Linked DNA regions of Homo sapiens: regions 1, 2, 3, 4 and 5 are each linked to region 6. Evidence: promoter capture Hi-C in 16 types of primary human blood cells and fetal thymus (Javierre and others, 2016). All regions are on one chromosome and are shown on one strand. The core of a region is centred on a gene start or on the middle of the fragment in contact, and the rest is flanking DNA. Distances in the headings are between cores, read along the strand shown. Region 1 overlaps LOC102724591 (a long non-coding RNA gene). Region 2 overlaps NUP153 (nucleoporin 153). Region 3 overlaps FAM8A1 (family with sequence similarity 8 member A1). Region 4 has its middle 6.7 kb from the start of NUP153-AS1. Region 5 has its middle 32 kb from the start of MIR548A1HG. Region 6 holds the start of KIF13A (kinesin family member 13A).

The links. Contacts are between HindIII fragments. The CHiCAGO score rates a contact against its expected background, and 5 or more counts as called.
Region 1: a fragment that was not itself captured here is called in contact with the fragment with the promoter of KIF13A in region 6 in 1 of 17 cell types (neutrophils); the score reaches 6.7 in neutrophils.
Region 2: a fragment that was not itself captured here is called in contact with the fragment with the promoter of KIF13A in region 6 in 2 of 17 cell types (neutrophils and naive B cells); the score reaches 5.4 in neutrophils.
Region 3: a contact is called between a fragment that was not itself captured here and the fragment with the promoter of KIF13A in region 6, in 2 of 17 cell types (neutrophils and monocytes). The highest score is 7.7, in neutrophils.
Region 4: a fragment that was not itself captured here is called in contact with the fragment with the promoter of KIF13A in region 6 in 2 of 17 cell types (monocytes and neutrophils); the score reaches 6.0 in monocytes.
Region 5: a contact is called between a fragment that was not itself captured here and the fragment with the promoter of KIF13A in region 6, in 1 of 17 cell types (monocytes). The highest score is 5.3, in monocytes.

Annotation. Positions count from the first base shown.
Region 1 is chr6:17,583,626-17,587,639 of GRCh38, reverse strand. LOC102724591 (a long non-coding RNA gene) reads left to right here. Exons shown (of 5, transcript XR_007059485.1): 5 at 1,753-1,849. Among named protein-coding and RNA genes, the nearest start is that of FAM8A1, 15 kb to the left of the region's middle. The HindIII fragment of the contact is 9,051 bases long and covers 1-4,014 here.
Region 2 is chr6:17,693,847-17,698,373 of GRCh38, reverse strand. The region is part of intron 1 of NUP153 (nucleoporin 153); the gene reads left to right. Among named protein-coding and RNA genes, the nearest start is that of NUP153, 11 kb to the left of the region's middle. The HindIII fragment of the contact is 986 bases long and covers 1,946-2,931 here.
Region 3 is chr6:17,603,388-17,607,509 of GRCh38, reverse strand. FAM8A1 (family with sequence similarity 8 member A1) reads right to left here. Exons shown (of 5, transcript NM_016255.3): 3 at 2,481-2,604; 4 at 1,497-1,636. Among named protein-coding and RNA genes, the nearest start is that of FAM8A1, 5.1 kb to the right of the region's middle. The HindIII fragment of the contact is 6,133 bases long and covers 1-4,122 here.
Region 4 is chr6:17,711,554-17,715,925 of GRCh38, reverse strand. No RefSeq gene overlaps it. Among named protein-coding and RNA genes, the nearest start is that of NUP153-AS1, 6.7 kb to the right of the region's middle. The HindIII fragment of the contact is 3,410 bases long and covers 1-3,341 here.
Region 5 is chr6:18,488,089-18,492,766 of GRCh38, reverse strand. No RefSeq gene overlaps it. Among named protein-coding and RNA genes, the nearest start is that of MIR548A1HG, 32 kb to the left of the region's middle. The HindIII fragment of the contact is 1,213 bases long and covers 2,731-3,943 here.
Region 6 is chr6:17,986,046-17,990,155 of GRCh38, reverse strand. It overlaps KIF13A (kinesin family member 13A), which reads left to right and starts at 2,521. Exons shown (of 39, transcript NM_022113.6): 1 at 2,521-2,747; 2 at 3,012-3,102. The coding sequence starts at 2,693. RefSeq lists silencers at 1,946-2,445, 2,816-2,935. The HindIII fragment of the contact is 11,131 bases long and covers 1-4,110 here.

The DNA.
Region 1 (4,014 bases), core at 276-2,775, 400 kb after region 6:
AGGCAGAGGAAGGGAGAGCAAGAGGGTGGAAGTGGGGCAGTGGGGTGCTGGTGGGCCATCCAAGGGACACCAGCTGTTGAATATGTTGCATCTGTAAAGATACAGATTGATCATTCAGAAATAAAGAAGAGAAAAAAAGCAAAAGCAAAAAAAGTTTTAAAATAAAAAAGAATACAGATTGAGAGAGTCATAGGCATACAGATGGCCCTTGAAATGACAAGTAGATGGAAAACAATGAAACAAGAAAAGAAAGCCAAGAACAGAGAAAAAAAAACAGAGATGGAGAAGGAATAGTTAGTGAGGTCGGTAGGAAAGTAGGATTGAGTGGGAAGAGAGACTTTCCATAAGAAAGGAGTCATGTTAGGGTTTTCCAGAGAACCAGAACCAATACAGTGTGTGTGTGTGTGTGTGTGTGTGTATATGGGTGTGCGTGTATGTATATGTGTATATATATGGGTGTGCGTGTGTATGTGTGTATATATATGGGTGTGCGTGTGTATGTATATGTGTGTATATATGGGTGTGCGAGTGTATGTATATGTGTATATATGGGTGTGCGTATGTATATGTGTATATATATGGGTGTGCGAGTGTGTATATGTATATATATGGGTGTGCATGTGTATGTATATGTGTATATATATGGGTGTGCGTGTGTATGTATATACGTATATATATGGGTGTGCGTGTGTATGTGTGTGTATATGAGTGTGCGTGTGTGTGTATATATGGGTGTGCGTGTGTATGTATATGTGTATATATGGGTGTGCGTGTGTATGTATATGTGTATATATATGGGTGTGCGTGTATGTATATGTGTATATATAGGTGTGCGTATGTGTATATATATGGGTGTGCGTGTATGTGTATATATATGGGTGTGCGTGTATGTGTATATATATGGGTGTGCGTGTGTATGTGTATATATGGGTGTGTATGTATATGTGTATATATATGGGTGTGCGTATGTGTATATATATGGGTGTGCGTGTGTATGTATATGTGTATATATATGGGTGTGCATATGTATATGTGTAAATATATGGGTGTGCGTATGTATATATATATATATGGGTGTGCATGTGTATGTATATGTGTATATATATGGGTGTGATTCCCAGTCCAAGGTCAGAAGACCAATGTACCAGCTCAAGCAGGCAAGCAGGAAACAAAAAATGGAAGAATTCCTCCTTCCTCCACTTCTTGTTCTGTTCAGGCTCCCAACAGATTGGATGATGCCCACACACATTGAGGCGGCCAACCTGCTTTACTGAATTCACCAATTCAAATGCTAACCTCATCTGGAAACACCCTCGCAGACACACTCAGACACAACGTTTAATCTGGGTGCCCCTTGGCCAGTCATGTTGACACATAGAATTAACCATCACAGGAGTTACATCTGGTGTGAAAACCACAAAGAAATCAGGAAGGATGAAAACTGTGGTGGACATTTTCTCTTTTGACCACACTACCTCTTTTTTCCCCCCTTCTTTTGGAGAGAGAGAATTTCCACTTAACTCTTCCCCCAATGTGTGCACCTGTGCTAAGACTCTCAGGGCATTCTGCACTGCTCACTCCAAGCCACCAGGTGGGTATGTGGCCCGAGCTCAGCAGATTGGACTGACTTATGAGGACTTGGAAACTTGAGCCAAGTGATCCAAGGATGGAATAAATGTAGTGCCAGCAGAGGGCCCTTATCTGATAAGAGTGTTGATTAACTCTTGCTACCTATGCTTCCTTTAATTTCAGGAGCTGTGATTGGTTGATTGATTTTGAGGCGGAGTTTCACTCTTGTTGCCCAGGCTGAAGTGCAGTGGCACAACCTCTGCTCACTGCAACCGCTGCCTTCCAGTTTCAAGCGATTCTCCTGCCTCAGCCTCCCAAGTAGCTGGGATTACAGGCGCCTGCCACAACGTCTGGGTAATTTTTGTATTTTTAGTAGAGATGGGTTTCACCATGTTGGCCAGGATGGTCTCGAACTCCTGACCTCGTGATCTGCCCGCCTTGGCCTCACAAAGTGCTGGGATTACAGGCGTGAGCCACCATGCCTGGCCTATTATTTTATTTTTTGAGATGGGGTCTCGCTCTGCTTCCCAGGTTGGAGTGCAGTGGCATGATCATGGCTCACTGCAACTTTGACCTCCCCAGGCTCCGGTGATCCTCCCACCTCAGCCTCTCAAGTGTCTGGGATTACAGGTAAGTGCCACTATGCCTGGCTATATTTTTGTGTGTTTTTTTTGTAGAGACGGAGTTTCTCCATTTTGGCCAGTTTGGTGTCGACCTCCCGGGCTTAAGCGATCCACCCACCTCAGCCTCCCAAAGTGTTGGGATTACAGGCGTGAGCCACTGTATCCAGCTTGTGATATACTTTTAATAAATTTCTCTTAAACTTAAATTAGCAAGTGCTTGTTTATCATCCTTCCAATTAGAGAACCTGGATTCGGCCATTAGGAAGTCAAGGGTGGCATTCATTGGGAAGTTTCATGGGGTGAGAGGTGAAAGGCTGGCTGATGGGGGAATGGAAGTGAGAAGTAGAAATAATTGCATTCTAATCTTTAAGGAGTTGTTTTTTGGGGGAAGAGAAGCTGTTAAAGAAGTAGCGAACTATTTTTAACCACGCTTGAACCCATCGTTTGATAGGGTGACTGAAAAGAGAGTTCCTGAAACTTGGGCAGCCATAAATCTATTGTTTTGTTATGAATTTCTCTAATTTTTAGTGAGATAAACTTACTTTTAGTTTATCAACATATTTCAACTATTCTTACTAGTCATATATGGCAACCCTGCCCCAAGATGTCACATTGGTCTCTAAAGTGTTTCCTTCAGAGTAAGGTTCATCTGATTTGATACACTGATAGGAAGCAAGTTGTAAAAAATAAAGCCACTACGGAAGGCTTCTTTTGTAAATAAGATACCCAAGCACCAAATCAATGATTACACTGAAAAATAACTTGATTTTGGTACTAACTTTTGGAAATACACATAAAATAGGCTTTCTCTTCTCCAGCCTAACGTGGATTGAATTGCTATACTGTGTAATGATTTTCTGCCCCCTAATGGTTGTTCAAAAGCATTAAGAAATTTGTCATCTGCTTGAAAACATTTTCTATTATAAGAAAATATTTTCTTTATAGCACATTTTTAATTTTATTTTAGGAATTCGAAATGACTTAGAAATGTGTCATCATTCACAAGAGGCCCGTGTTACTCTTAAAAATAGGCCGATCTCATAAAACAACTGCGAACCTCATTATATAATGTGAACAGACAGGATTTTAGGCAACCAGTAGGTGGAGGAATTTCCAAAGCTAAGAACACCACAGGCTCCAAAACCCAACTTCAGAGCTGAGGGCCTTAAAGTAATCTGTTCAGCCTTCTCCGCTTTATACTAATAGAAGACTGTGGAGCAGCTCTGAGATATATGCTCATAGAAGTACATCGCCCATGATATTCTGGCAAAAGGAAAGACTATTTTAGATTAGGATTGGATTTTACTTGTGAAATATGAGATTGGGGCCAAGAGAAAGCATTGCTTTGGGTAGGGATAGCATGAGATTAAAAAACTGAAAATAAGTCGAGTGTGTGAAGAAAATGACTGTGACATACGAGAGGAAGGAAGCCAACAAGAGAGTGCCGTGGGTAGATGCTAGAAAGGGTGACATCATGCAGAAAGGTCAGGGAGGGAGGCTGAGTTTGGCTTTGGTCCAGTCAGCAATAGAAGGCTATTATGAAAGACAAACGTAAATATTTGTAAAATATAGTGTTGGTACAAACAAATATAAAAAAACATTGAGTTGCTTCTGCTGCTCCTTCCTTTTTTAGACCTGGAAACAATGAATCCAGAGGGAACAGCCACAGACGCTCCTGAGCACGTCAGTTTAGGCCTTCTGTGCCTAACGCAATTTCTTCCCTTAGAATTTGACCCTTGCCTGTGTCACCCAGCACTCATCCCATACCTCCTCCTGACCTCCCTGCAAGGTGGAGCCCACCAACCTGATCGCTGATCTTACC
Region 2 (4,527 bases), core at 1,189-3,688, 290 kb after region 6:
GCAGAACCCCTGCCTTGGCCTCCAAAGCACTGAGATTACAGGCGTGAGCCACGGTGCTTGGACCTGAATCTAGTTTCAATAATCTGAATTTAACATCCAAATCTAAGACATTATTGGTTGTATTTTATAAGCCTATGCCATTCAGCAGCGAAGTTTACCCTATCCAATCAGTCCAAGTCCTCTAGCCATTTAAAGTACTTTTCTAGCTGAAGAATTAAAAACCTGCTCCCTGGGAGAATAAGATTCCAGAACCTTAAAACTGATGATGGACTGCATTTGATATTTATAGTTAAAGATCCAGTGAAACTATTTGAGAAAGGAGATTTTATAATCTGAACACTGCTAAGGATAATGTGAAGAAAAGGGAGTTGAACAGAACTGAAGTCAAGAAAACTAGTAGGAAGAAAAGAGCTTTGTATAGAAGGAAGGAAGGATATATAGGAATGACAAGGAGTTGGCCATACTGAAAAGATGCCTCTGGTTATTCCTGTGAAAAGGTTTATAAGAAAAGAATGTCGTTAATTACAAGTGAGTTCTGAGTTAGTGTTATAGAATAGCCTTCCCCCACCCCAGCTGTTTCTGAGTTAGTGTTATAGAATAGCCTTCCCCCACCCCAGCTGTTTCTGAGTTAGTGTTATAGAGTAGCCTGCCCCCACCCCAGCTGCCTTTCATTAATCCTTTTTTTTGAGATGGAGTCTCGCTCAGTCGCCCAGGCTGGAGTGCAGTGATGTGATCTCGGCTCACTGCAACCTCTGCCTCCTGGGTTCAAGCAATTCTCCCTCCCTCAGCCTCTCAAGTAGCTGGGATTACAGGTGCCTGCCACCACGCCTGGCTAATTTTTGCATTTTTTAATGGAGACAGGGTTTCGCCATGTTGGCCAGGCTTGTCTTGAACTCCTGACCTCAGGTGACCTGTCTGCCTCAGCCTCCCAAAGTGCTGGGATTACAGGCATGAGCCACTGCGCCCAGCTCATTAATCCTTCAACTCAGGTTAAATATAATTTGAAAAGCTAATGTATTCACAATACCTTATACGTTGAATGTTCCTGATATGTATGTAGTATTGAATTCTAATCCCCAGATTGAATTTTTAATTAGTCTAAATCTCAGTGGCATTTTTGACATGTTTTGCCAAATGAAGAACCCTTCTTTCTTGGAGAGAGAATACCCAGTGGATTTAGCCAGTTCACATTCTAAAATTCACTCCTTTAATCCTTGAACTTAAATTTATTATTTATGATTATGAAGTGTGGACTTTGCTTTAGGGCCACAGAGTATTTTTTAAGATTAATTTTTTTTTTTTTGAGACGGAGTCTTGCTCTGTAGCCCAGGCTGGAGTGCAGTGGTGTGATCTGGGCTCACTGCAACCTCCGTCTCCCAGGTTCAAGTGATTCTCCTGCCTCAGCCTCCTGGGTAGCTGGGATTACAGGCGGACACCACCTGCCAGCTAATTTTTGTAGTTTTAGTAGAAATGGTATTTCACCATGTTGGTCAGGCTGGTCTCAAACTCCTGACCTCAAGTGATCTGCCCACCTCGGCCTCCCAATGTGCTGGGATTACAGACGTAAGCTACTGCACCTGGCTGTTTTTTAAGATTTTATTTATTTGTTTTATTTTTTTGAGATGGAGTCTTGCTCTGTGGCCCAGGTTGGAGTGCAGTGGCGCCATCTTGGCTCACTGCAAGCTCCGCCTGCCGGGTTCACGCCATTCTCCTGCCTCAGCCTCCCGAGGAGCTGGGACTACAGGCATCCACCACCACACCCAGCTAATTTTTTATATTTTTAATAGAGACGGGGTTTCACCGTGTTAGCCAGGATGGTCTCGATCTCCTGACCTTGTGATCCACCCGCCTCGGCCTCTCAAAGTACTGGGATTACAGGCGTGAGCCACCGTGCCTGGCCTTGTTTTTAAATCTTAAAGCACTTTTCAGGTCCATACAGAAAGCTTATTTCCCTCATGCCTGCTTATTTCCTGTAAAGACCTGAAGAACTCTTCTCTCAAGAACTCCTCAAAACATAGGTGGGTTACATTGGGCCTTCCTTGGTAGTAAGGTCAAAGGAACCTTTTCTTCCATAAGAAAACCGTTTTTCCTCTTGTCAGACTCTTTTTACTCTTATTTGTTAGTGGCTGAAGTCTTTAGTACTTCAAAACTCTTTTAAAAAACTGCCAGTCAAGGAGGTACCTCTCCAGATCTGTTTGGTAGGCAGGGTCCCTTAACTTTTTTGGGGTTGGTTGGTTTGTTTGTTTTGAGACAGTTTCACTCTTGTCACCCAGGCTGGAGTGCAATGGCACGATCAACTGGAACATCAACTTCATTTTATTTTCAAAAAATTGTTCCAGTATTTTCTTTTTCTGTTTTTTTTTTTGAGACGGAGTCTCACTCTGTCACCCAGGCTGGAGTGCAGTGGTGCAATCTCAGCTCACTGCAAGCTCCGCCTTCCGGGTTCACGCCATTCTCCTGCCTCAGCCTCCTGAGAAGCTGGGACTACAGGTGCCCGCCACCATGTCCAGCTAATTTTTTGTATTTTTAGTAGAGACAGGGTTTCACCGTGTTAGCCAGGATGGTCTCGATCTCCTGACCTCATGATCCGCCCACCTTGGCCTCCTAAAGTGTTGGGATTACAGGCGTGAGCCACCGTGCCCAGCCCCCTGTTAACTCTTGATAGTCTCCTTTCCAATACTGTGCATATTTCTTTTCCGTAGTAGTTTTTTAAAAATTTCTAATGTCTTATAGTTGGCTGTGCATCATAAACACATATTCTGTGTAAGTCTTTAACGGTGGAAATCAACTCGAAGGTCGGCTTTTATGTTAACTTCTCATTGATTTTTCAGAGTTGATATTAAAAATATGTTTATAAATATGTGTTTGGTAGACAATAAGATACTAATTAAAATGGTGGTCTTTTAGGTAAAATTCTATTGTAGTTAAGCTTATAATCATGGTTATGTATACCAAGGCCTTAATTAGAATAACAGGTCACTGAGTTTTTGATGGTTTCAGTATAGTGGTTCTCAAACATTAATTTGCAGAAGAATCAAATTCAAGAGCTTATTAAAATAAATTTGCCTTTCTAATGAGCTCATAGGCTACACCAATGCTGCTGATCTGAGAACTACACTTTGAGAACCACTGTTTTAGTCCTTTTATAAGTGACTAGATATATAAACTACAGAACTAAAGATTACACAGATTGTCACACATGGGTATGCACACAATTTAAAGGGAATTTTGTGAGATTTAAAGCTATTTTAAGTTTTACTAGATTTAGCATTTATTGATAAGGTTACCAGAAGCTTTGAATTGCATGATCCAAGGACACGCCTGTATTTGGGTCTTAGCACCTTTTTGTTCGTTCAGTCCATAGTACTTCCCACTCTCTCTTTTTTTTTTTCCTTGAGACAGAGTCTCGCTTTGTTGCTCAGGCTGGAGTGCAGTGGCGTGAACTCTGCTCACTGCAACCTCTGCGTCCTGGGTTCAAGCGATTCTCCTACCTCAGCCTTCCAAGTAGCTGGGTCTACAGGTGCCCACCACCATGCCCGGCTACTTTTTTTTTATTTTTAGTAGAGACGGGGTTTCACTATGTTGGCCAGGCTGGTCTTGAACTTCTGACCTCGTGATTCTCCCTCTTCAGCCTCCCAAAGCGCTGGGCTTATAGGAGTAAGCCACCGTGGCCCCAGCCCCATCCTTTATTTCTTTTTCTTTTCTTTTCTTTTTTGTGAGACGGAGTCTTGCTCTGTCACCCAGGCTGGAGTGCAATGGCGCGATCTTGGCTCACTGCAACCTCCGCCTCCCAGGTTCAAGCGATTCTTCCCCCTCAGCCTCCTGAGTAGCTAGGATTACAGGCATCACCATCATGCCCAGCTGAATTTTGTATTTCTGTAGAGACAGGGTTTCACCATGTTGGCCAGGCTGGTCTTGAACTCTTGACCTCAGGTAATCCGCCCGCGTCGGCCTCCGGAAGTGCTGGGATTACAGGCGTGAGCCACCGGGCCCAGCTCCTATCCTTTATTTCTTTATCCCAACCTTCATCTCTGTAAAACAGTACATAAATGGACCAGAAAAGGGTCTTTATCCTGGTGAATATTTTAGAATCTATACTAACTCATGGAGGTAAAGGCAAACATTACTATTCTTCATTCAATCAATACTTGCTGATCACATACCACATGTCAAGCATTAAATACAGAGGATACAGCAGTGAACAAGTTCCTGCCTTCTTGGAGCTTATGTTCTAAGTTAGGAAGACAAGGAAACAAGTAAACATAATATGTAACGCATAAACATATAATATGGTGATTCAGTGCTATCAATAAAGTAGGTGGAATGGGATACCCAATTTTGAAAAAAATATAGAAAAAAAGTTTTAATAAAAAATAAAGCTGGGAAGCAAAATGAGATGGGTGTCCTATTATATAAGCAAAGACCTGAAAAAGTAAAGAGGCCATGCAAATTTCTACTAGAGAAGTATTAGGCCAGGCGCGGTGGTGGTGCACTTTGGGAGTGCTGGGATTACAGGCTGGAGTGCAG
Region 3 (4,122 bases), core at 1,598-4,097, 380 kb after region 6:
ACTACCTATAGTATATAGATACTACCTATAGTATATAGATAGAGACTACCTATAGTATCTTATGATACTATAGATATAGATCAATAGTCTCTATCTTATGAGGTTGTTAGCATTAAATTAATACATATGCAGTGTTATTAACAGTGCAGGTATATAAAAAGTACTCAATAAACATTAGCCATTACTGACTCTTATTAAAAGAAGTAGGTAGGTTTATAACTACCAGTTTTGTTTTGTTTTTTTTTTTTTTTGAGATGGAGTCTTGCTCTGTCGCCCAGGTTGGAGTGCAGTGGTGCAATCTCAGCTCACTGCAAGCTCTGCCTCCCGGGTTCATGCCATTCTCCTGCCTCAGCCTCCTGAGTAGCTGGGACTACAGGGCCCGCCACCACGCCCGGCTAATTTTTTGTATTTTTAGTAGAGACGGGGTTTCACCATGTTAGCCAGGATGGTCTCGATCTCCTGACCTCGTGATCTGCCCACCTCAGCCTCACAAAGTGCTGGGATTACAGGCGTGAGCCACTGTGCCCGGCTATAACTACCAAATTTTAAGAAAAATTTGAAGATGGCAAAACCAAGGTTTCTAGAATCACTTGTTTATATTTCTTGATGTAACAATCCAGCTCTGAATCATTCTGGCAAAAATTGCAGCCAATACCTTGTTTGGCTCAACTGACTACCAGCCACTGACCTCCACAGTTTCCATTATCACTGGTTGTACCTTCCCCCAGCGCTAGATGCCAACAGCTAACCTTGAATACTGGCAGTATTACAAGCTCTCACCTAACAGCAGGAGAAGGATGCACGAATGCATAGCTGTCAAAACTCTGCTGCCTATTCAAGATGGAATAATGACAGGCATGGCCAAATGGAGACTCAAGGCAGACTAGTACCTGACCTAACATCCACAGGTCCAAAGAATAATAAAGCTGATTGTGGAGCACTAATACACCATCAACACCCAAATCATCCTCTCGTATTGTGACTTATAATTCATAAAATGATCATCTTGAGGCAGGGCATGGTGGCTCACGTCTGTAATCCCAACACTTTGAGAGGCGGAGGCGGGTGGATCATGAGGTCAGGAGATCAAGACCATCCTGGTTAACACGGTGAAACCCCGTCCCTACTAAAAATACAAAAAATTAGCCGGGCGTGGTGGCGGGCACCTGTAGTCCCACCTACTCGGGAGGCTGAGGCAGGAGAATGGCGTGAACCTGGGAGGCGGAGCCTGCAGTGAGCCGAGACTGTGCCACTGCACTCCAGCCTGGGCAACAGAGTGAGACTCCGTCTCACAAAAAAAAAAAAAAAAAAATCATCTTGAAAATGTGTACTGTAAAAGAGGTCTACAATCATGTAACACAACTGAAATAAATATTCAAACTTTGTTTTAACTTAATAAATATAAGCCTATCTACTATGAAGAAAAAAACCCCAATATTCTAAAACACATTATTTTCATTAAGTATGTAGTAGATTAAGCTAAGAAAAGGACTTACGTTGTAATGCTAACATTTGAGGAAGGAATCACTAAAACCCGACTTGGTGCAATAAGCACTGATGTATCACATGTCACAACTCGAAGCCCCAGCAGGAACTTCCCTGGGGTAGCTCCACCTGCTCCCCAAATGCAAATTATCTAAGGAAAGAAGGATGATTTAAAAATTACTGGCTCAACTATACCAATTTTAAAGATAAACTTTTCCCACCATATTATTTCATGTTTTAAATTTTTCAAGTTGAAAGAATTGCATAGAATACTCAAAAGTTAACCATTTAACTTTATGCATTTCTGTAGGTCTCTAACATGTCCAATACCACAAGATGTCTGTCTCCTGTAATATTTCTCTATGACTACTATACTTTCTAGTAAGCTGCTTCTGCAGAAAACTACATTGCAATTTACAAGTATATTTTTGGACCACAATCTATAAGTGAAATTTTATTTGAGTTTCTAAGACTGAAAAATATTACAAAGAAATTGTAAAATGTCTCTCTTCCAAAAGTTTTTACTTAATGATTAGTTAAAATTTGGGAAAAAAAACAGAAAAGTAGACATGTGGAAAAGACATGAATAATTATAAATTTCGATTACTTTTTCGTCTTGGGCTGATAATCTAAAATTAGATTGTTGGCTAGGTGCAGTGGCTCATGCCTGTAATCCCAGCACTTTGGGAGGCCAAGGTGGGCAGATCACTGAGGCCAGGAGTTTGAGACCAGCCTGGCCTACATGGCAAAACCCTGTCTCTACTAAAAATACAAAAATTAGCCAGGTGTGGTGGTATGCACCTGTAGTCCCACCTACTCAGGAGGCTGAGACAGGAGAATCACTTGAACTCAGGAGGCAGAGGTTGCAGTGAGCCAAGATCACACCACTGCACTCCAGCCTGGGTGACAGAGCGAGACTCTGTCTCAAAAAAATAAATGTAAAAACATAAAATTAGATTGTTAAATATTAATTCTTGCTGAAGTCAGTAGCTTACCTCATAGAAACAAACTAATAATCTGTATATAAGTGCCACAACCATCATTTTCTGCAAGTCTTCCATTGATGTGTCTTCATCTATTTCTTCTATTATATAATGCATAGCAAACTTAGAGATATCCCTACACAAAATAATAGTTTGGGGTTATAAATAATTAGTTACCAGAACAGTAGCACTGACTTTTTTTTCATTAGTGCAAGTCATACATTTTAATTGAAATTCTAAACTAATCTTTAGATTCCCAACCATCTAGTATCATAAAGCATTCATTAGTTTATTCAACAAATAAGCAGCATTATCATGAGCAGACACTGTACTAGCACGGGGGAAATAAGGGTGAATGAATTTACACGGTCCCTGCTTTCGTGGAGGGTCTAACCTAGCAAAGAAAACAGAACAATAAATAAATAGCAATAATAAAGTGGGATGAGTGCTGTGATGGGGAACCTAGGATACTATGGAAACATACACCAGATACACTTAACCTTGTGAAGGTTTCCCAGAAAAGACAGTTAGATGAGGCTCTGAAGGATGAAGAGAAGTTAGCCAGACTAAGAAGAGGAAATAACGTTCCAGAAAGAGGGAACAGCAGGAGAGAATGTCTTGGAGAAAGAGAGAATATGATAGAAGCTGTAAGCAGTTTGGTGTGGCTCATATACTAAATGTGAGAGGTGGCAGTGATTAAGAAATAAAGGCAGGGTGTGGTGGTATGCACCTGCAGTCCCACCTACTTGGGAGGTTGAGACAGCCTCCTGAGTATAAACCACATGATGAAATTCAGACTTTATCCTGCTGGTAAAGAGAAACCATTGAAGGGGCTGAGCATGGTGGCTCACGCATGTAATCCCAGCACTTTGGGAGGCTGAGGTGGGAGGATCGCCTGAGCCTAGGATTTTGAAAGCAACCTGGGCAACACAGACCCCATCTCTAAAAAAACAATAAACATTTTAAAAAGAGAAACCATTGAAGGGTTTTAAGGTAGGAAAGGAACAGAACCAGGATTTATGATCACTTTGGTTTTATATCAGAGACTGGATTGAGATAAAACAGGAGACTGAGTTACCACTAGAAGGCTTCTGCTATAATCCAAGCAAGAGACGACAGTAATCGGAGTAGGGAGAAGCAATGATGATAAAAAATGGGCCAGGTGTGGTGGCTCATGCTTGTAATCTCAGCACTTTGGGAAGCTAAGGCAGGAGGATCATTTGAGCCCAGGAGTTTGAGACCAGCCTGGGCAACATAGGGAGACCCCATCTCTACAAAAAACAATTTTTTTTTTTAATTAGCTAGGCATGGTGGAGCATGCCTGTGGTCCCAGCTCCTTGTGAGGCTGAGGTGGGAGTGTCACTTGGGCACAGGAGATCAAGGCTGCAGTGAGCCATAATTGTACTACTGCACTCCAGCCTGGGTGACAGAGCAAGACTCTGTCTCAAAAAAAGAAAAATGATCTGGCAGTGAGGAGGTCTGGGGTTGAAAGCTATTCAGAAAATTGAACATAAAGGAGTTGGTATTTCACTGGATGTGGAGTGGAGTGAGAGGGAGGGACAGGGAGGAATCACAGTAACAGGTTTCTGGCAAGGACCCTGAAATTTGACTGCACAGGCTTGTATCTTGACTCTGTCACTTACTACCTTTGTAA
Region 4 (4,372 bases), core at 387-2,886, 270 kb after region 6:
TTTGCTCTTTTTGCCCAGGTTGGAGTGCAATTGGTGCGATCTCAGCTTACCACAACCTCCGCCTCCTGGGTTCAAGGAATTCTCCTGCCTCAACCTCCCGAGTAGCTGTGATTACAGGCATATGCCACCACACCCGGCTAATTTGGTATTTTTAGCAGAGACGAGGTTTCTCCATGTTGGTCTGGCTGGTCTCGAACTCCCGACCTCAGTTTTGGATACTTTTCAAAGGACCGTGTTCTAAAGTTAGTGGTGTAGGCAAAAAGTCAGTTCCTCTTTGTTTGTAAACCAAAACCAAACCTTGAGAGGAGACTCTGCTGGTACAGGAGGAGGCATAGTTGTAAAGGCTGGGACCTTATGATGAGGAGTCAAAGAGGCAGAGCTATAGTGGACAAGAGCGAAGAGAGAAAAATGGCATTTCCTTCCCAATTGTCTACTACTCCTGGTGCCCCTTTGTGGATTTGCCTCCTCACTGCACAGCAGCAGACCACTACTTTGCAGAGTAACTGCTGGCCAACATGGATATCCAGTATGAGAGAGACAAGTGATTAAACTCAAGCATCAGCAAGGATGAAGCTAAAATCAATCCTGGGTCTCAGCACTTCGGCTGGAAGGGATGGGCCTAAAAGCGGGTGCTTCTTGTAGGAAGTGCTTATGAGTCACTGCTGACTCATTGAAGGGGCAAGATTTTATGACCAAACAAGTGAAAAAGAAAATGTAACTGTTACTAATTGAAAGCATTTAAGTTATGGCTTGGGTTTAACTGTGGCTAGTTGATGCTCTTTGTTGCTTGGTTGTGGCCTTCTTGGAGGCCTATGGTCTGCTTTGATGCTTTTATTCTACACATTGTATGGGTACATAGTGGAAGCTACACCTTCATGGGGAGAGGGGGAGAGTTTTCTGTAGTTGGGGGTGGTTGTTTAAGTAGGTTTTGCTCAACGTCTGCAAAGTTGCCTTCAATTTGTTTGGTGATACTGCCTTTTTAATACTAAATGTAGAATGATATAACCTCACTCATCTTTGCTTTGGAGAATATTTGAAGAGTTCTTTTTATTGGGTTTTTTTTTTTTTTTTTTTTTTTGGTTTTAAAGAAGCCTACTTTTGGTAGCTCATGATATCCTACTGTCATTATAATGGATCCAAACAAGGTAAGCTACATTGAGGCCACTGGCCATGGATTATAGATATTGGCTTAAAATCATCTTAACTAACCATTATGCTTGTGTAATTGCTCTGTTAAATCAACTCTGCTACCTGTGATGATACAGAATAAGGATGTGCTAAATCCAGATTTTCATTTCAGCTAGTAGCCTAGCTTCCTTTGGAAATAGAAGCTAATGAAAATAACAATTAAAAAATGGTTCATCTCATTTCTGCTCACTTTGTGGTAAAAGTGAAAGTTACTGAATGGTAAAAGGAAAAAAAAAATCTACATGATCAATAAGCTGCTGGCTCATCAATTCTTACTTAAATTGTTGGTTGTTGTAGATGAGCAAGGAACAGAAATTCCTAAGCCTGCTCTTTACAGGAACTTCAGTGACCTCATTATCTGCCCTTGATGTTTAACTGTTCACATGAGCAAACATGCTTCTATTTGGCCTACACAAGGGGTGATGTATGTAAGTTTTTAAATATGATTTTTCACCTTTTGTATTGCACAGCTTTTTAGGCCTTCTCTATTGCAGGAGTTAAGAACAATAGGCATGTTGTGATGACTTCTTCTGGAAACTTTTAGACTAACATATCCATTATTGTTATCAAATTGAACTTTTCCAGAAGTAATGTTTGGAGAAAATACTATGTCCAATTATTGTCTTAGCTTCATAGCAGCTATTTAAGAGGTCAAGCTATGGCCGGGCACGGTGGCTCACGCCTGTAATCCCAGCACTCTGGGAGGCCAAGGCAGGCGGATCACGAGGTCAGGAGATCGAGACCATCCTGGCTAACACAGTGAAACCCCGTCTCTACTAAAAAAAAAAAAATACAAAAAATTAGCCAGCCATAGTGGCGGGCACCTGTAGTCCCAGCTACTCGGGAGGCTGAGGCAGAAGAATGGCGTGAACCCGGGAGGCGGAGCTTGCAGTGAGCCGAGATCGTGCCACTGCACTCCAGCACTCCAGCCTGGACGACAGAGGCAGACTCCGTCTGAAAAAAAAAAAAAAAAAAAGAGGTCAAGCTACTAGAGGTAGGTAATCTAATTGTTTTTATGATTTGTCAAGTAGAAAGCTGCTACCATTCCTGCCTTTACAGTTTAGAAAAATTACAGTTTATTCCAAGTTGCCTGAATTCTCATCTAGCATTCCAGATATATTAGATGCCAATCCAAGCCTAAGAATATTCCCTCCTAGAGTGCCCGCTTGCTTTTCTACCTTAAAAATGATTTTGTGACTACAACGGAATGAGAAAAGTCATCGCAATTCTAAGAAAGTAGCCTGATATTTCTTTTAGGAATTTATCTCTGCTCATAGCTTCTTGGATTAGGGTTTACTTTACATCCATTTTTTTTTTTCATGAATTAGTTCTAAAATAAAATTTTTCTTTTTCTTTTGCAACCAACCAAACAACCAGCAGTGACTAAAAGAAAATTTGTATAAGAAAAGGATACATGGGAATTAGCAAGGGGTTCTTGAAATATCTATGCTTAAGTATATTTCATAACTAATGCTCAGTTTTAGACCCTTAACATTTCAGATGTTAATAACTTCTGCTAGATTACCTTTTTCCTTTGGAAAAAAAAAGTTAATGAAAGAATAATTAAAAAATGGTTCATTCCATTTCTGCTCACTTTGTGGTAAAGGAGAAAGGTACAGAATGATAAAGAAGAGGAAAAAAAACTACATGTTGTATAAGCTGTTGGTTCATCAATTCTTAAATTGTTGATTGTTGTAGATTAGTAAGGAACAGAAGTTCCTAAGCCTGCTCTTTACGGGAACTTCAGGTACCTCATTGTCTTGCCTTCAAAGTTAATCTAACTTCAGATTAATAACTTCTGGTGGCATGGTTTTGAAACAATGCTCCTAGAATGTAATACAGTTCACCTGGTGATCTTGTTAAAATGTAGATTCTGATTGTGTTGGCTTGGGATGGGCAGAGCTGCTTTATTCTAACAAGCTCCCGGGGGCTGCAGCTGGTGCTTGCTGGTCAGAGTAGCAGCAAGAGGCCAAAAGTCACTGTTTGTTTAAACTGGGTAGTTCATGCTTGTCTGATGGTGGTGGGGTGATATGTATGTGAGGGTTGTTTGCATGTTAACTGGTTTGCATGCTTTTGAAAAGGAATGCCTTAATAAGTTAGGGTCTGATAAACTTGAGCATTCTCTACAAATGCTTTTAAAAAATAAAGAAGCTTAGTATTAGCAAACTAAGGTTTGCAAAGGTTATAGTTTTACAGACTGCAACCTTAATAAGTCCAGTTTCGTAATGTAACTGATGAATTATGTTAATAAATAAAACTAAACCAATTGATTTCTTTTTTTTCTTTTTTCTTTTTTTTTGAGATGGAGTCTCGCTCTGTCGCCCAGGCTGGAGTGCAGTGGCATGATCTCCGCTCACTGAAAGCTCCGCCTCCCAGGTTCATGCCATTCTCCTGCCTCAGCCTCCCGAGTAGCTGGGATTACAGGCGCCCACCACCGCGCCCGGCTAATTTTTTTTTTTTGTATTTTTAGTAGAGACGGTGGTTTCACCATGTTAGCCAGGATGGTCTTGATCTCCTGACCTCGTGATCCGCCTGCCTTGGCCTCCCAAAGTGCTGAGATTACAGGCATGAGCCACCGTGCCCGCCCCTGATTTCTTGTATGAGATAGATTCAACAGCATGTGTTTAGAATTTACGTGTAGGTTTTTTTTTTTTTTTTTGAGACAGAGTCTGGCTCAGTTGCCCAGGCTGCAGTACCGTAGCATGATCTCGGCTCACTGCAACCTCTGCCTCCCAAGTTCAAGCGATTCTTCTGTCTCAGCCTCCCAAGTAGCTGGGATTACAGGCATGTGCCACCACACTCGGCTAATTTTTTAATTTTTTTAGTAGAGACGGGGTTTTGCCACGTTGGCCAGGCTGGTCTCAAACTCCTGACCTCGGGTGATCCGCACATCTTGGCCTCCCAAACTGCTGGATTACTGGTGTGAGCCACTGTGCCTGGCTTGAGTGTAGCATTTTTAAGGTGAATTATCAGTGTTAAGTGCTAATGATTAATAGATTATAAAATAGTAAACTTTAGTATAACTCAATAAAATGGTAAAGTGTAGCATAATATGTAGACAGAGATTGTTTTACAGTTTTGTATACTGACATACTAAATGCCAAGACTAGAAACCAACACATAAATATCTCAATAAATATTTGTGTTTTAATGAATTAATCTCAGTTAATTCATTAACTGTCTT
Region 5 (4,678 bases), core at 2,088-4,587, 500 kb before region 6:
TTTCTACCCAGTTCAGTTCTTTCCTGCATCTCTCCTATGTCTCTAGTCAGAATACCTTCACTTGTCTTTCTATCTTGTTTATACCTTTCTTAGAGCACTTACTACAGTTTGATTTGTGTAACATTTACTTTAAAAGATGCCCGTCTTCCACCATAGACCGTGAGCACCTTGGGAATATGGACTGTGTCTTGTTTTACCACCTCCCCTGACCTTCATCCATAGCACAATGCCCCACCCATAGTGAACATTCAACAGAGGATGCTGAACTAGATTGAACAGAATCCCTACTACTTCATTTGTTCATTTGTATCTAAAACCAAGTCTCAGGGAACTCTTTTTTTGCCATAATATCAGGAGAGAGGTTGTTGTTGTTGTTGTTGTTGTTGTTGTTGTTTTGAGATGGAGTTTCACTCTTGTTGCCCAGGCTGGAGTGCAATGACTCGATTTCGGCTTACTGCAACCTCTGCCTCCTGGGTTCAAGTGATTCTCCTGCCTCAGCCTTGCAAGTAGCTGGGGTCACAGGGGCCTGCCACCACACCTGGCTGATTTTTATTTATTTTTTTAATTTTTAGTAGAGACAGAGTTTCACCATGTTGGCCAGGCTCGTCTCAAACTCCTGACTTCAGGTGATCCACCCGCCTCGGCCTCCTAAAGTGCTGGGATTACAGGGGTGAGCCACCGCACCCGGCCAAGAGACAGCATTGTTAATAGACAAGAAAGAAGGATCCAGAGAAGTAAGGAAGGTAGAGAGTAGAAAAAAGCTTTCTTCTCCAACATTCATAGCTGTCTTTCGTATTTCTTTGTATGCCACATCTGCCTATTTGCCTAATGCTGCACTACCAATTCAGCTATGGCTTGGGGACTGGTTTTACCTGAAAAGCAACTAACTCAGTCTGAAAGTTTCAAAGACTTCCTGGATCTAATGAGAATGTCACTGCATTTCAATTTAGAATCCTTTCTGCCATATCTCTAAGCATTTTCTAACTAAAGAACCAATCTCTCTTAAATAATGTGTTCCTTTGGCTCCCACCCACAATTCTTTCCGTTCAGGCCTTTAGAGGCGTGCTGAGCTGAGCCCCTGTGGAGGGGGATGGTGTCCTGCAAAGCCATAACTGCCCACACTGCTATGTGAGCATCTATCCACCGCTCCCCCAGTGGTCATTCAACCTGTGCGGCTGCTACTGTCACCAGTGTAACGCATGATGTTTCCTGGGAAGCAATGCTGGGAGCCCTTTTGCAGTGGCTGGAACAATATTCCCAACATACGTTCCCATGGCCAGAACAATGCCGAGGCTCCTTCCAATTCTCCTTCTCCCTCTGCGGGTTTGGTGATTGCTCTTTGTGGGGCCTGGCTGAGTCACAGATGGACACAGTGTTCTGTGCCCTCACCGCCAGGATGCCTAAGGCATTTGCATATGGTGAATCCCCCAGCCAGGATATTTACAAAAGCCGAAGAGAGGCATTTTTCTCCTTCAGAACTGACAATGGCTTTGATGCCTAGAATATGTTCCATTAGCAACAGAAGCCAAAAAAGGTTAGACAGAAAAGTTTCCCTCACAGTGGTTTCCACCCAGTAGTATTTGAAAAGACTGAGTAGCCAGGGCCTCTGGGGCTACGTCTGAATTCTATCTGGCCTGGGCTCTTCACTTATCCTTCAGACCATCAGTATACCCATGGACCATGGGTATAAACTGGTTACAGACCTTGCATAGACTCTACCATGACTTGAGCAACTAGAATACTGTCTGGAGACTGTCACCTTTATTCGGGTTCTTCCCATTCAGCATATCTGGAAAAATAAACAAGACACCCCAGATTCCCATGTCCGTGCCCTCAAAAGGAAATGCAGGGAAATGTTATTTATTTGTCATGATCTGTGGCCTTACCATGCACACAGCTCCTGAAATAGAAGACCAGCATCATTCTGGTTGATTCACTCTCCCCCATATCCAGCAGGTTCATTCTATCTAAATGGCTCTCTTACTCTTCTTCTCTTGTTCATACCCACCATCATATGCTACATCCAGTTAATTATATCAGGTTCATTGCTTTTCTCCCTACTTCTCCCTCAACCTCCTTCCACAAAACTATCAACATAATTTTTCTCACACGTAAGTTTCATCTCGTCACTACCTTGCTCAAACTTTAGCAATGCCCTAGTTATCTTGGAGATAAAAGCTGATTTCTTCAAGTCACTTCAGGATTTGGTCCTCTCCTACCTGTCCATCCATCCTTACATCCCCCCTACTCTTTATACTCCAGTGATTCTAAACAACTTTGGACTAAGCAAACTTGCTGGACTCTTGCATACCTCCAAAGATGTTCCTCTCCCTAGAATGCATCTACTCCCTGGTCTGTTCCCAGTCTTCAGGACTGCCAAATATTCAGTTGACTTGCCCAGTTTCATTCGGCTTCCCACTCACCAGCCAGGACACGTTAGTCCATTTTTTATCTGTGCTCTGTTTCTTCAATTGGCCAAGGTCAGCAAAAGTTTGAGGAGGATTTAGTTCATTTTCCCTATTCCACCATCCCAAGCAAGAAAACCTTAAGGAGCACCCCATAGGGTGGAATCTGACAATGAAGATGACCAAGTGATAGGCAGAACAAGGAGGCAGAAAGGAACTGGATTCTTGGTGACTTTGGGTGCCTGAGTCAAGCTTGCCTGGAGCCTACTCTATATCAAGACTTTTCTGTTTCATCAGCCAACAACTTCCCTGTATTGTTTAAGCTTGTTTGAACTGGGTTTTCTATCTCTTGCAACCCAGAGGAGCTTATCTGATGCAACAGAAATTAATATTATTCTCTTTGAAAGACATAGATTTCCTTAAAATAAATGGTAAAATAATATAAACTTGCATGCACCAAAGGAGCTCAGTAAATGCACCACTGATTAGAGTCAGGGAGCTTGAATTCTACATGAAAATTTGCCTGCAGCTTCTTGAGGCCCTAACCTCTCATGCTTTATTCTTCTATCTGTAGATTGACTCTACTCCTACCAACTCATTCCTTAATGTATAACATAGTTGCTAGTTATAAAGTCTGGAAAGAGTTCTATTGTTCCTTTACATGTGCAGTTATTTAAAAACATTTATTATTTATTGAGCACTTACTATGTGCTTGGCAGTAGGTGTCAAACACAGAGAAAAACCTGAGATATGTTCTAGGCCAAAGTTTGGCAAACCGCAGCTCAGGGGCCAAATGTGGCCCCTCTCTTGTTTGCATAAATAAAGTTTTATTGAAACACAACCGTACTGACTCATTTATGTGTTGACTGGCTGCTTTCACACTACAACAGCACAGTTGGGTTGTAACCACAAAGACCGTATGGCCTACAAAGCCTTAAGTACCTACGATACAGCACTTTACAGAAAAAGTTTGCCAACCTCTGTTCTAGGCTATTTACCACAGCTAAATAAACCTCCCTTCCCTGAAAAACTGTAGCAAAGTATCTTTCACTCACTTTGGTGTAATGCAGACCCAAATGTCAAATTACTTCCCTAGAAAATAAGTATAGGAGGGAGAAAGAAAAAAATTTTAAACATAAATTCAAATGAGTACACTTTTAGTTTCCAGAATTAATTGGTACCACAGATAAGATTCAGGCCCTGTGAACCATCATTAAGGTCTTCCTTGAGAGAGGAGGGGCAGAAACTGTCCTAGCTGGTGTCAGTGAAAATCCAAGTGCAGGCAATATGACTCATTACAAAGAAAAGAGGTTCGCTTGGCTTTTTTTCTCCTTCATCCTTTCCCCTTGCACAGTTTACTTCTCAGAACAAGATTCTGGTTTCAGAAACTATAGGCAGAGACTAAGATAGATAGATAGATAGATAGATAGATAGATAGACAGACCAGCTTATTTCTAAGTATTAATGCAAAGGCTAAAATCTAGAAATTAGGTTTCTGATTTTTTTTGTATTGGTCTATGATGACTCACAGGTAAGCTTCTAGACTAAATAAACTGTTCAGAATAGTTCCCATTCCCATTGTGCATTCAAGGTTTTCATAAAGCTCTTTTGCAGTACCAGGAGGATTAACACCATAATCACTTACATTGTTATACCGTGGAGTGGAAATACCACAGGCCATTGAGGCCAACAGTTGCCTGTTTCAACTTGTTTTGCCACTTACAATGTGCGCAACACAGAAGAATGTATTTTTCTCCCTCTCCTCTGAAACGCAGTTTCCTTAAGAGTATGTGGAATATGAATCCTCGTTTTCTAGAGTTGTTAGGGAATTGGATGAGGTCACGTGGGAAAGCATCTAACACCGTTACAGGCACAGAGCTGTGTTTCCATAAACATGGTTTATTTCCTTCTCCCTATATCCTTCTGTATCTGAGCAAATGAAAAGCATGCCCTAGTCTGAACAAGAGAATCACAACTTCCTAATATTCAGAGTCTTTCCTGTGTTAAATGGAAAACAAAAGTTACAAGTTGAGAGATACAAAGAGATTTAATTGTGTTCCGGGACTTTCTCCTCATTACCTCAACTCCCAACCCCAAGATCAAAGATGAGAATAGGTTTCTATTTGTACATGAACAGAAAGCTGCAGGCATCAATCAGTAGTAACCACTAATGGAAACTTGGCCACTAGTACCCTCTCTGAGTCTGTCTGACACATTTGGATCTAATTGGCAGTCTGCTTTAGAACAGCCAAAAAATATATTGTCATACACAT
Region 6 (4,110 bases), core at 1,272-3,771:
TATGGCTTGTACATACCTTTTTGGGAGTTACAAATTCAACCCTCTACAATTCCCACTGATAGAAACTACCAGAGCAATGGCTTAGCATAGGGATGGTATCTTGCTTGTGAAAAGGTCCTGGATAAAGAATTTCAGGAATGGTGGGAGGTAATATTAAACAGAGAGGTTTTTTGTTTGTTTGCTTGTTTTTGAGGTGGAGTTTGGCTCTTGTTGCCCAGGCTGTAGTGCAACGGTGCGATCTTGGCTCACCGCAACCTCCGCCTCCCAGGTTCAAGCGATTCTCCTGCCTCAGCCTCCCAAGTAGCTGGGATTACAGGCATGTGCCATCACGCCTGGCTAATTTTGTATTTTTAGTGGAGACGGGGTTTCTCCATGTTGGTCAGGCTGGTCTCGGACTCCCGACCTCAGGTGATCTGCCAGCCTCGGCCTCCCAAAGTGCTGGGATTACAGGCGTGAGCCACCGTGCCCAGCCTGAGAGTTTTTTGAACAATAGAATACCATGCACGATTAAAGGATAAAATTTTAATTTTGTGAAAAATCAGTCTGGAAGCTGGATTTAGGAGTGATTAGAGGAGGCAAAGCTAGGAGGGTTAACAGGATGTCTCAGCAGCCCAAAAGTGAAGAGGTAAGCACAGACCTAGATTCTTAGCCTCAGAGGGCTGGAAATTTCACCTCTTTCTGAGCAGCAGCTGAGAGCCTGTAGCCTAAAGCCTACAACAGTGTTTGTAACATAGTAGGGCGCTCAGAACACATTTGTTGAACAAGTGAATGGACAGGTAAAGTGAGATTGCAGCAGCAGGAATGGAGAGGAGGAAAGATGCAACAGGCCCTTCAGAGGTAGACTGAGATAGCTGGCTCTACAATAAGGTGGGGCTGAAGTATTTGTCCTTCAGTGTACACAGGGGACTGGTTCCAGGAACATCCAAAACCATGCATACTCAAGTCCCACAGTCAGCTCTGCAGAACCCACAAATAGGAAAAGTTGGATCTCTCAGTTTTGAACCTGCCAAATACTGTCTTTTCTTTTTTCTCCCTTTTTTTTTTTGAGACAGGGTCTTGCTTTGTTGCCTAGGCTGGAGTGCAGTGGTGCGAACATGGCTCACTGCAGCCTCAACCTTCCAGGCTCAAGTGATCCTCCCACCTCAGCCTCTCCAGTAACTAAGACTACAGGCACCTGCCACCATGCCCGGCTATTTTTTAAATTTTTATGTTTGGCAAGATGGGGTTTCTTTACATTGCCCAGGCTGGTCTCGAACTCCTGGCCTCAAGTGATCCTCCCGCCTCGGCCTCCCAAAGTGTTGGGATTACAGGCGTAAGGCACTGTGCCAGAGCACGAATACTGTATTTTCAATCAGATTTTGGTTGAAAAAAAGCCACGTGTAAGTGGACTCGTGCAGTTCAAACCCGTGTTGTTCGAGGGTCAAGCGTAGCATCACCTCGGTTGGAGGCGGACGGACCCCTCTCCTAGCACCTGCCGTACACTGTCTAGCATAATAAGTCTCCACGCCCTCTCTTCCACCTTAGCGTGTGCCTCTGCATCATGCTATTCATGTTTCTGTGTGTCCTCAACAGCACCCTGCACACAGTAAAACCTCAATGCATCTTCCAATAAGTGGATTTCTAGATTTAAGCAAAATCGAAAGATTCCTGGATCTAAACTCTGGATTTTTGACTTCTGTACGCTTCAAAATGCCTGGCACTCGGTGAGCGCCCCTTAAGCACTTGTTGAACCAAACAGAATAAATCGGATTCGCCCAGTTCCGCCCTGGCAGCGAGGTCTGCATTTGGCAGGATGACAGAATCCATTGCTATTAAATTCTTATGTAAGAGTTAATGGCCCTCCCAGCCCACTTGACATCCCTCCCGAGACAAGAGAGGCCGGGAAAGGAAGGGAGAGCACTATTTACAAACATACACTGTTTCGGTGGTGGATTCACAGATTCATTTCTAGTCTCGGTTCACCACAGAGATCTTAAAATACCGCTGCAGGCTCCGTGTGGGACAGAGGGGGCGGCGTGCCGGGACTCGGAGGGGAAGGCCTGCGCACCCAGCGCGGCGAGCCGTGGTCCTTGCTGCCGTCCCGGGGCTCCGGGTGGCAGCGGCCCCAGAAGGCGGCTCGAGCTCACGGCGGTGTCCGGGGGGGGGCCCCGCGGGCGCCGGTGCAGGCTTGGCCTGGGAGGTCCCCTGGGGAAACAATGCGTCCCGCCCCGGACTCCAGCCTCCCCTAAGCGCCGCGCTGCTCGCCGCTCCTCTCACTGCCGTCCCGCCGCTCCAGGGGGCGCCGCGCGTGGCCGTGTCCGGCCTCTCCCGAGCCCCGGCGGGTGACGGGCGCGGAACATGGCGGCGCGGGGCCCCGGGCAGCCGCGAGGGGCCGCGGCGCTGCGGTCTCGGCTGGGGCGGCGCGGCTAGAGCTGCGCCTGGGCCCGCCGGCGAGGCCTCCTCCCCGCCCGCCGCCGCCGCCGCCGCCGCCGCGCCCCGCCCCGCGCGCCCGCCCCTCCCCGGGCCGCGGCCGTGCCCCGCGTCGCGCTCCCCCGGGATGGCCCGCGCGCCTCGGCGCTGCCTCTCGGAGCTCACGGCGGAGCGGCGGCGGCCGCGCTCGAGGGGCGCGCGGCTGCAGCGGCGGCGGCGCCGCGCGTGAGGGGCCGCCTAAGGCCGAGCGGGCGCGGCGAGCGGCCGGGCGAGCGCAGCCAACATGTCGGATACCAAGGTAAAAGTTGCCGTCCGGGTCCGGCCCATGAACCGACGAGGTGAGGAGCTTTCCGCTCTTTTTTATTTCTGCTCGGGCTGAGGGCGGGGGCAACTTTAGAAACTGCGGGGCCGGGACGGCGAGAGCGCGGCCGGGGCCGGGGGGCCGGGGCGGAGGCGGCGTCCGCGCTGGCCGTGGTGCCCGGGGCGCCGTCTCCAGGCTCGGCCGCCTCCAGGGACGGAGCCCCGCTCGGCGCGGCTGGCGGGCGGGCGGGCTGGAGGCGCGGATGCTGGACTTTGCAACGTCCCTTTCTCTCTGCTTTCAGAACTGGAACTGAACACCAAGTGCGTGGTGGAGATGGAAGGGAATCAAACGGTCCTGCACCCTCCTCCTTCTAACACCAAACAGGGAGAAAGGTAAAGCGGGTTCCGAGAGGGCGGCTGGGAGGATCCAGCCTCGCGGGGTCCCGCAAGTTTGAGCCAGGAAAATGGGAGTGCTCTTTCCTATTGTTAGGAGGACGGCTTCAAGTTTGTCGCCGGCTCCTGTTTGAAGCTGTTGCAAGTCCAAGTTCCTCTCCTCCCTCGCCCCCCTTCTCCTCCATCTAGAGCGGCGGCAGGCAGGGCACCCTGGCCACAGCACCAGTCAGCTGAGCCCGGGCGGGCTGCGAGGCACCCGGGAGGGAGAGGGCCGGATGGGACCCCATAGGTGATTCGTCCAGCGGCCACATTTTACAGACAGGAAAACTGAGGCCCGAGGCGGGCAGGTGACCAGCCCACGACCTTATTGTTCGTGGAACCCAGTGTCCGTGATTCTTTTCATCACTGCAGGGTTTGTTTCCTTTGGCAGAATTGTTTAGGGACAGTGTGTCTAAAATGGGAGGAAAAAATAAAGCAAAAGTCTTGTACGATGTAGACTCAGGCTGGACTAGTTAGTATCTATTTTAGTTGTTGTTGCTGAGTTGAGATAATGCCTCAATGTAATGCGCGAATTTTGATTTTCAAAGAAACAAAAGTAGGGCCCTGAACTGTATAGACACTGAGGGATGTTTAAAAAGGGGCTGTATTTACTAGATGGCAACATATTTGCATTTGAAAAGTGGTAACTGTTGGATCCTTATTAATTCCGTTCTGTTCCATGCAACAGTATGGGTTAACGCCCCAAAATAATTTGAATATTTGGCATTTTTCTAGTAAGCCTCTGAGAAGAAATCGGTTGGAATTCATTCAATATAATAATGCAGTAGCTTGTAAATATATATATGTGAAAAAACGGGAGAGTTTACAATATTAATTTTCATTGGAAATGAATATGAGTTTGTGTTTCCACGAATCACCTGTTGATCGATGGAATACAATTTAGTGAATTTCCTTCTTCAGAGATTTTCACTGAAGAGAGACTCTGAAGCAGGGTTTGTGACATTATTG